3 separate regions of the Homo sapiens genome follow, and regions 1 and 3 are each linked to region 2. Evidence: promoter capture Hi-C in human tissues and cell types (Jung and others, 2019). All regions are on one chromosome and are shown on one strand. Each heading gives the region's core, a stretch centred on a gene start or on the middle of the fragment in contact. The rest is flanking DNA. Distances are from core to core; before and after follow the strand shown. Region 1 holds the start of GNAT2 (G protein subunit alpha transducin 2). Region 2 overlaps ATXN7L2 (ataxin 7 like 2). Region 3 holds the start of MYBPHL (myosin binding protein H like).

What was found. Contacts are between HindIII fragments. The study calls those that stand out against the background at their distance.
Region 1: the fragment with the promoter of GNAT2 here is called in contact with a fragment that was not itself captured in region 2 in 5 of the 25 tissues and cell types used here (IMR-90 fibroblasts, adrenal gland, bladder and 2 more).
Region 3: a contact is called between the fragment with the promoter of MYBPHL here and a fragment that was not itself captured in region 2, in 3 of the 25 tissues and cell types used here (H1 embryonic stem cells, IMR-90 fibroblasts and dorsolateral prefrontal cortex).

The regions. Positions count from the first base shown.
Region 1 is chr1:109,618,005-109,621,221 of GRCh38, reverse strand. GNAT2 (G protein subunit alpha transducin 2) reads left to right here and starts at 1,606. Exons shown (of 9, transcript NM_001377295.2): 1 at 1,606-1,739. AMPD2 (adenosine monophosphate deaminase 2) reads right to left here and starts at 1,385. Exons shown (of 19, transcript NM_001368809.2): 1 at 944-1,385; 2 at 1-308. The coding sequence starts at 46. RefSeq lists enhancers at 100-628, 588-637, 1,159-1,687, 1,658-1,707, 1,688-2,218 and 1 more and a silencer at 1,278-1,467. The HindIII fragment of the contact is 31,069 bases long and covers 1-3,217 here.
Region 2 is chr1:109,488,701-109,491,849 of GRCh38, reverse strand. It overlaps ATXN7L2 (ataxin 7 like 2), which reads right to left. Exons shown (of 11, transcript NM_001350175.2): 7 at 2,750-3,003; 8 at 1,722-1,920; 9 at 1,458-1,579; 10 at 133-928. Among named protein-coding and RNA genes, the nearest start is that of CYB561D1, 3.8 kb to the left of the region's middle. RefSeq lists a silencer at 944-993. The HindIII fragment of the contact is 6,277 bases long and covers 1-3,149 here.
Region 3 is chr1:109,305,574-109,308,737 of GRCh38, reverse strand. It overlaps MYBPHL (myosin binding protein H like), which reads left to right and starts at 1,727. Exons shown (of 9, transcript NM_001010985.3): 1 at 1,727-1,891. The coding sequence starts at 1,747. RefSeq lists enhancers at 731-1,469, 1,470-2,209. The HindIII fragment of the contact is 18,863 bases long and covers 1-3,164 here.

The sequences.
Region 1 (3,217 bases), core at 357-2,856, 130 kb before region 2:
GATATTTGGCCTTGGGCTTGCCAGAGCCAGATGGATAGGATGCCATGGCTGGGACCACGGCGGCGACAGCGGGGGAGTCTGAGCGGCACCGGCTGGGGCCTGGCTCTGCCACATCCAACCCCTTCCTCCGCCCCGCCCCCAGCGGGAGTGACTGATGCAGGAAGCAGCGGCTCCGCAGGCGGAAGAGGCCCTGGCCACGATTTCTCATGTTGTCTAGGCAACCTCGGGGAGTGGGGCCTCCATCTCTGCCCCTTATCCCTCCCCTGCCTCCTCAGTCCCAGGAGTGACGTGACTGATGGTGGCTGGGCCTGGCGGGGGGCGGGGAGGGGGTGGGTAGAAAAGAAGATGGGGAAGGGCCAGCCCCCAGCTCTCCACTAACCCACCAAGAGCCCTCACCCCATCATGCCAGGGCTCCCGGGCAAAGAAGCCAAAGTCCAGGCTAGCTGGTCCTTCCAGCTAGCCTGGAAGAAAAAAGAATAACAAACAGGAATTCAGCAGCGAGCGAGTCCAAGCTCAAACACAGTCCTCCCGGGGCAGGGCAGGCATACTCCGTGAAAACCCAGCACCCACTTTCCTTCCACATCTGACCCTCAGCTCCCGGGGTAGCCCAGCTCTGGGAGGAGGGGGAAGAACCGAGAATCCCAGCCCAGGAGGGAGGGGCCTGTCCCGGGAAAATTCCACCGTCGCCAAATAGCTACCTCCCAGGAAGGCAGGAAGGCCAGGAGACCCCCTTGTCTGGGGGTCTGGGACAGAGACCCTAGCCTCTTTGGATTTTTCCTCTGTCTCTGCACACTCTGGCTCTGCTCCCCAGGCCCTCCTGGGAGGAGCTGACCGCCTTCCCTAGGTCCTGCTGCTGTGCTGTGACTCCCACCCTCTTGTCACTCTGGCCACAGCACTTCTCTGTCCCAGAGACCCTCCCTCCAACACACGTACACACACTCACCTGAGGCCATGATGCCCGAGTTCCGAGGGGAGGCTGCCCACGAGAAGTCTGTACAGCAGAAAGCCCGGGTCCTGAGGGACGGCAGGGGGATCGGGCCACAGACCCCAGCCAAGTCACTCCAAGGGCCCCTGCCCTGGCACTGAGATGGGGAAAGTAAGGCAGTCTTTCAAAATTGCCAGCTGGCCGGAGGTGGACTCCCGCAGACCTCGGCAGCCGGACTGGCCTCAAGGCGACCCCGGTGTCGCGACCACCCAACCCTGCAATCGAGAGGCTGGTAGGCCACGTGCTCCCAAGGGAGCGGGACCCGAAACTCGTCCAGATTTCTCTCAACACTCCCTGGGCATTCAGGGTCGGACTCCCGCGGCCGGACTGTGGGGGAGTCACGCAACAGGTGAGACCCCACCAAAATCTCGCCGGCTCCGCGCCAGGCTCTGCGGCCCTTGGCCCCGCCCCCGCCTGGCCCCGCCTCCGCCTGCCGACCCCGCCTCGCCATTTTTTTCTCTTCCTGGGCGCCACGTGGGCAGCCACCACACCGCGGTAGGGCTGGCCTGAGCCGACCCTGGGTCTTGGGCCAGTTCCGTGCGTCAGCTTCCTCATCAGTAAGATGGGGTAATGACAGTACCTCACTCAAAGGGGTTACTGTGAAGATTAAACGTAAAGTCCCTTTACACAGTGCCTGGCACGAAGTGAGGGCCCAGTGAAAGGTAGCTGTTATCATTGTCCCAGGATTCATTTTAAGCAGAAGTCCTGCCCCTGCAATCTCACTTGGTCGTCTGTTTTCTTCCGGCCGGCGTAGGTAGGAGGCTGTGCCCTGCAATTCTGGCTCCCCTTCCCACATTTCTGTATTTGGTGGTTAAGAGCTTTAACTCTAGCCAGAATGTCTGGGTTCAAATCCAGATTTCACCTACTTCCTGACTGATACTGGGCAAGTTACCTAACTTCTCTGTGCTTCTATTTCGTCTGTAAAATGAGTGTAAGAGTACCTGCTTTATATGGTGGTTAAGATAAATGAGTTAATATAAGTTAACTGCTTAGAACTGTGCCTGGCCTGTAGTTAGTACTCAGTATTCATGTATTACCATTGCTTTAGCCTTGGCCTTGGTTCTCTATTGACACTCACAGGTTGATTCACTTGCAGCCGTTCTGGGGTCTATCCAACAAGCATCCCCACTGCCAAGGGGTAGATAATCCGACCTAAAGGGAACTTGTGGAGGGAAGTCCCTAAGACTTCACTGAATATAATTAAATGCATTAGCAGGAATTAATCTCTTCCCTATTTTCCCTCTTGTGGGAGGCCTTTGCCCCCCACACCCAGTTGTTCTAATGCTGTTTGTCTGGCTCCTCCCAGTTCTTACCACTCCCACAGCAGAGATCCTTCCCAAACTCTGCCTCCCTCTTCTCTCCCCACGCTGGATTCTGGACCCTGAACCCTTTTCTCCACCTGCATCTGGTGCCACTTCCATTGATCCCTGGCTACTGTTCCCTGAACAAACTTAAAAAAAACTTGGCCTCTTCACCTCACACAGAATCCATAAAACTAAAAAGAGAACAGAGATAACCAGGTTTACCTAATCAAAATAGCAAAGACTAAAAAACAAAAAACCAAAAAATAAACGCTAATGCAGGTTGGCAAGGGTATAGTTAGTGAGATGGGAGACACACACACACGTACATGTGCACAAACACATTACTGGTGGCCTTGAACACTGATATAATCTTTCTGAAAGCCATCTGGTAATATAGAATCAAAATTTTCAAAAAGGTTCTTATTATTTGACCCAGTAATCAACTTTCTGGAAGTTGTTTTTCTAAAAAGAGCTGCCAGAAAAATATGTATGCAAAAAGTTGTTCAGCACCACAATGTGTATTGCATAGAAAAGTTAGATACTTTAAAGGTCGAACAATAGGGGAATGTTTATGTAATATTCATACCATGAAATACAGCCATTAAAAATTGTTCTTGGAGAAATGTTTAATGATGTGGAAATGTTTACAATATAAAGTTAGGTAAAAGAATGGATGCAAAACACTATACACAGTATGGTCCTACTTATGTGATATACATGGGTAGAAAAGAAACACACCAACAAGTTTACCAATGATTATCTGTAGTGATGGAATTATGGGTTATATTTATTTTCTTTATATTTATTTGCATTTTAGAAATTATAATACATACCCATAACTTTTATAATCAAGGGGATAGAAATCAACAAAAATCTGTAAAAATCTGTAATTGCCTCCACAGTCCCCCCAACCCAGCCTTCCCGGGGT
Region 2 (3,149 bases), core at 650-3,149:
AAACAGTCCAGGAACTCTCTCAACTTCCCCTTCCTCCCTTTCCCTGCACAAACACCAATGTAGCATCTTCTCTGTATCAGGTACCCCCTGTGTGCCCCACCCTCATCAATCTTCAGGGAGCCTGGCTGGTACCTTCAGTGTAGAGCACTTCTCCTCAAAGGCCAGGGCCGGGCCTGGCTTCTTGCGGCGCACAGAGCAGGCCACATCAGCAGGGGCACCAGCCTGACAGTGCTTGGCCTTCACTGGCCGGCAATAAGTGGCCAGGTTTTTCCGCTTCTTGGCCACCTCCTCCTCAGAGAGGCAGTTGGTTGGCAGGGCCTTGGCTGGGTGTCCAGCTGCTCCCCGGTTCTCCAGCTGAGAAGCCTTGACTGGTGTGGGGAGCTGATGAGGGGAGCCACGACAGTCCAGGGGCCCTGCCCGCTTCACTCTTGGCCCCATTGTCCCATTAAGCCCCATGCTCAGGGCTGTTTTAGTTTTGGCCGAGAGGCCCCTACAGCCAGAGGGTTTCCCTTTTCCAGTGGGCTCCAGGATGCAGGTCCGTTTAAGAGTGGTAGGGCCAGGGGATAACTTCCGCTTTCGAGAAGGGGCCTCCACCTCCACCCCGTCCTTGCCTTTGGATGACTTGCTGGCCTTGGAAGGCGGCAGCTTGCTGAAGGACGGGGATGGCGTGTTGGCAGGCAGTGGTGAGGTGATAGCCTGGCTCCCGCCCATGCACTCTGCCTGGCTACAGGCAGCCGCCACGCTGGGGGAGCCTGCAGGGTAGCTGGGGACAAGGTTGTCCTTGGTGGGGGGCATGGAGGCTGGGCAGGCAGGTCTCAGGGTTGGACCTGGAAGGCGGGGGCAGGTGCCTGTAGAGGATGGGCTCAGGGGAGCAGATAACGGGGAGTTGACAAGGTGAGCTGGAGGTTCAGCTGCCGGTGGGATCTTCCTGCAGCAAAAAGAAAGCCCCACTGTGACTGCCAAGAAACAAGACAGCTTCCCCCAACACAAGACACACTCCAGTCTCTCTGCCCCACCTAGAAATGGTCAGCAGAGCCCCAGAGTTGCTGCCATCTGCTGGGAGATGCTGGAACTGAGGGTTAGGAAGAAGACACAGGGGTGCCTGTGGAGAGGAATTAGCTAGTACCTACTAACTAGGAGGCAGCCCACTAGGAACTTCATTTTAAATCTTGGTTTGGGCATCCCCTATCCCTAGTTACCCAAAAGGTACTGGAAGTGATGGATGAAAGTCTAGATTCACCCCCAGACCACCCTTCCATGCCCTGCCTTAGCCAAACTCTAGGCTGCCAAGTTTTCCCACCTCCTTTTCATGCTACTCCCTATCTGGGGTCCTGCTGGCAAATAGCCAAGGCACACCTATGGGTATACAGGAAAGATCAGGGCTTCTGAAGCCCAAGTATGTCTGGAACCTAGGAATTTCCATTCTAGAACTTCCATTCTGGGTCCGAGAGACTTACTTCCACATGTGTGTGCTGAGGTGCCGTTCCAGCATGGAGCTGAGTGCTGAGCAGAACCGGTCCAGCCGGCGGCTAAACACATAGCATCCTGGGCTCACCAGCCGGCTCCCAAAGGTGCAGAACTAAAGGCAGAAGGAAGGTGCATGGTTGGCAGGGTCTGGGGTGCACAGACAGCATCTGCACACAGGATCTGGCCTCCTCCCCATGTTGTTGGCCAGGAGTGCTGGGCCACCCCCTCCATAGGCCCCTATTCCAGGTCCTTACCGCCTGTGGCCGTGGGGGCCGGGTTGCATAATGGCAGTCAGGGGGTGGGTGGAGGTCGTCAGATGTCCCCTCCTCCTCACTCTCTTCGCTGGAGGCCTGGGTCCCACCCCGGGGCATGGGGAAGGGGAACAGGCCTGGGTCCCCATCACCACCACAGGGGCCTTCATCATCCAATTCACTCTCGGAGGAGGCCCGGGACCTGGAAGGGCCAAAAGGGATGCCAGGGGAATGTGACTGTTGTGGGGTCAGAGTAGGGGCATCCTTGAACCTGCCGAGCTCAAAGAGCAGGGCACCAGGGCAGACACCCTGCAGGGCAATCAGAAGAGGACAGAGGGAAGGGAAGGACAGGAGGGAACGACACAGCTCACAGAGTAAGAGACAGAGAGACTGCTCCCAAGGGATTCTCTCCCCAGCCCCTTCACCTCCCAGCCCCTTCCTCCTCAGGGGATAATCTGCTGCAGATCCGCCTCCTCCAGAAAATCTTCACAGTTAAAACTGTACCCAGCTCTGGTCAGCCCAGTCAACTCGCTCAACCCCCTTCTTGCATCACATATTCCTGTGAGCCTGTCTGTGAGCTGAGCCTGTGTTTCGTGTCTGCCCCTTGTGTGACAGGCAGAGATGCATGTGTGTCTCCTTCAGCAAGTCAGGCTCTCCCTGGGGTCCGGCATAGCCTCTGCACGCGAAGGGGCCAGTGAGTGAATACACATAGGGCTGCCTTGCCCAGGAGTGTGACCCTTTCAGCTCCCCAGTGACAAGTTTCGGTCTGTTGGAGGCAGCTGGGAAAATGTTCATATCCTGAGTGTTGGATCTGGCACACTGCCGAGAGGCTGGGGTGCTGTGGTATGCCTGGTTGGAAACAGGGGAGTCTCCTGCTTCCACACCACTGTCAGGAGCCCCAGGAATACCCCCACACTCAGGGCTGAGGGAGTGCCTCTTCCAGGACACTCCCTGAGCCTGTTTCCAGGGGCCCCTGATGGCTTAGGGGCCAAGTACCCCCAGGTGAGGTAGGGGTTGGATTCTAGACGTACCTGGGCAGTGCACAGTATGGGTAGGTCTGCTTGGCACGAACAGAGAAGGTGCTGCTGGGAGCAGCCACCGCTGCTACAACCTGGACTGAGGAGGGGAGCTCCTGGGAGGGGCGCTCGAGAACTTGCTCCTTGCGCCCTGGGCTCTTCTCCTTGGGAGACTCCCCTTTGCGGGAGTTGGCCTTCAGCTCTGCCACCAGCACGTCAAAGTCCTTGGCCCGGCCCTGGACTTCCCGGCGCTGGTGTACTGAGTGGATCTAGAATACAGCAGAGTGGAGAGCTGGGGAGTAGGTATGAACTGAGAAGGGGTGAGGGACGGCAGGGTGCTTTGGCCCGGGCAAGTTGGGGGGCAGGGAGAGAGGTGGGCATATTTGCAGCTGTGTTCATGTGTCTTTGTTTCATT
Region 3 (3,164 bases), core at 478-2,977, 180 kb after region 2:
TGATGGGCAAACCTTAGGAACCTGCATCTTAAAGTTGATTCTTTACACCTTCGCTCCAACAAAGGGCTAAGACTCAGCCTGGGCCAATTTCCTCACCAAAAGATGGGTTACGTGTTGTGTAAAAGGGGGTGTATTTGGGGTCTCCTGGCTAGGAGACTGTCCACACTTACGGGGCCTTGGCTGGGTCAAGCAGGAAAAATAGTTCAGAAAGACCTTCAAGCTAGTTCTGATATGGCAAAAACCCAGTCTTCTGCCAACCAAATCAACCCCATAGGCCATCCAAGGCCCCAATAAACAGATTGTCCTGGGCCTTAGCTCCTATACCAGTTACAAAGAGGCTGAGCTTCTGTCACCCCAAGATAACACAGGCTCCTGGGATCTTACCAATTACCCCAAAATTGAAGGCAAAAATGAGTAAGAAGTCAGTCCATTTGTTCAACTGCACCCATTTTTTTTCCATGAAAAAAATACAGGGGTGAGTAGGGGGCTGTGGGAACCCTATACTTTCCACTCAGCTTTGCCGTGACTCTCAAACTGCTCTAAAATTAAAGCATTTTAAAATGCAGAGGGATGCTGGCTTCTGGAGATAAGAAGGTAGGAGTATGATAGGTGGCAGTGTCCATGGCATGTACAACACGTATAGAAAGATGGTTTGCTAAGTCTGGAAATCATGTAGGACCTGTAGTATGTGACTAGCACCTGCTGTGAGCTGGCCACTTTCCTATAGATTGTATCATTTTATCCTCAACACAATCATGGCATCATCCCTTGTTTCATAGACTGGGACTTGAGACTCCGAGTCGGCCATTTGCCCAGAGTCCCAGCTGGTGAGTGAGTGGTACAGCCAGAAGTCACACGCAGGTCTCTGAGCTCGCCTCCCTCCACCACTGCTGCCTCTCCCTTTATTTGTACTTCATCTAATAGGCAAGGCAGCCATTGACAGCTCTCAAAGGGGGAAGTGCTGGCCTGACCTAAAAATAGCTTACATTTATCAAGCACTTAGTCGGCTACACTCTGCTAAGCACTTTACAGAGATTACCTCTTTAATCCTCACAACGACCCTATGGTTATAATTATCTCCATTTTACAGATGAGGAAACAGACTGAAGAGAGACTGTGAGGTGTTGTGAGTCACACAGCTAGTTGGTGACAGAGCCCCAAGTGGCACCTGGGCAGCCAGTGCGAGTGCAGTCTCCACCTACCACTGCGCTGTGCCCGCTGCCCCCGGGGAGCGGGGGAGGATGGGACAGGCCCTGTAAAGGTCGAGTTGATAAGACTTTACAATTCATTGAATGTGGGAGCAGAGGGAGAAAGAGCAGTTCAGGCGTTGCTGTGAGTCAGCTAATCCTGGGCCCCTTCTTTGGGACCTGAATGCCCCACGGGATGAACTGGAGGTCAGGAGCAGAGATGTCACTCAACCCTCCCTACAGAAATTAGAGGTCCCTTTTGGATGGTGTGTTCAAGCTCTCCCTCCCTGGTGCTGTGGGGGGTGTCATCTCTCTCCCGAGATAACAGGGACACCTCAGTCCTCCTGGGGCTATTCTGGGCTGCTGTCTGATCCTCCTCTCTCCCCCAACCCCTACTTCAGCCTTTCTGCTGGGCGTAGCTGAGTGGGGAGGGCCAGCCCAGTTACGTAACCCTGTGGCTGGGACCCGGGAGGCCAGCCTGGGAGCAGGTGCTCAGCCCCTCCCTCATCACCAGCAGTGAAAATCTAGAGCTGGAGCTCAGCCTCTGGGAAGGCCCAGCATGGAGGCAGCCACAGCTCCGGAGGTGGCCGCAGGATCCAAGCTGAAGGTGAAAGAAGCCAGCCCAGCGGATGCTGAACCACCCCAGGCTTCACCTGGACAGGGGGCTGGCAGCCCCACTCCCCAGCTCCTGCCCCCTATAGAAGGTGACCCATGGCAGGTGGGGAGGGTGGGGAGGCCGGGTGGTGGGAGTTGGGGAAGACATCGCCACCTTCCTGAACGGCGCCTCAGGTTTTCTGCAGAGCTAAAGACTCTATAGGATTGGTGATTAGGCTGGAGATCATTCGTGAGAGCCCCCATCCCCTGTCCTTGATGGAGTCTAACTTGCTGCTCAAATGTCCCTGCTAAGTTTTTGTGTTTTAGCTGAGAAGTCAGTGATGGTGTTGGTGGCACTTTACAGTGACTAAAAATGATCTGTTTATATTTTTACCTTTTAAAAAATTGTCATAGGGACTGGGAAGACCTGATATACTAATGGCCAGTCAGGAAGGGACTGAGGGGTAAGAGATAGTGACTGTCTGCTGAAGGAACAGGGAAATAAAATGCTATGGCAATGGGGAGGCTAAGAGTGGGGCAGCACAGTGACACTCGGCCTCCTGCTGGGCAGTACCACGGGGTCAGGACCTCCTCCAATCCCCCACTGCTCCCATAGGAGATCCTGACCCCTCAGAGTCTGAGCTCCACGGAAGTGGAGCTCTCCTGGGAGAAGCATTCAATTTCCCCTTCACGATGGTCTCTGTGTGCCTCTCAGCAAAGAGGCGTTCCCAAGTGAGGAATTCCAACCCCGAGCTTCCTGCCGCCCATCCCTGAATGCCCTGGCTGAGGCCTCTGTAGCTAACCACTTCGTGGCGCTCACCTGAAAGTCTTAAGAGGATGAAAAGACCACAATCAAGAAACACGTGGACTCCTAGGGCAGGAAGAGGCAGGGGAAAAGATATACTAGACTTGGAGGCAAAGCTCTAGGCTCAATTCCTAGTGCCGCCTCTAACAGCCCTGTGACCTTGGACAAGTCACTGGACTGCTCAGTTTCCATTTTCACTCTGTAAAATGGTGATTAATAACATCTACCTATCAGGGTAGTTGAAAGGATTGCTGAGATGATCCAGGGTGCCTTGGAAGAGGCCAAACTAAGATGTAAATAAATGATCAAATATTTCCAAGTGAGAGGTGAAGGCTGCGTTCTACCTCCATAGGGTTGTGCAGCAGACTCTGTCTGCCTCTTATCCTCATGGGAGAGGCCAGGTTTCCAGAAACTATTTGAATGTCAAGGGCAGAGAGCTGGCCAAGTTTGTCCCGTTGAAGATGAAGGGAGCAAAAGTTAGTGTAAATATATTAAGCTGGGGTGATGGAGGCAGAAAACCAGTTTCTTCCCTTAAAAGGCCCAGAGAATAAGTGACAGGCAGCAGGAGAATGAGAGCC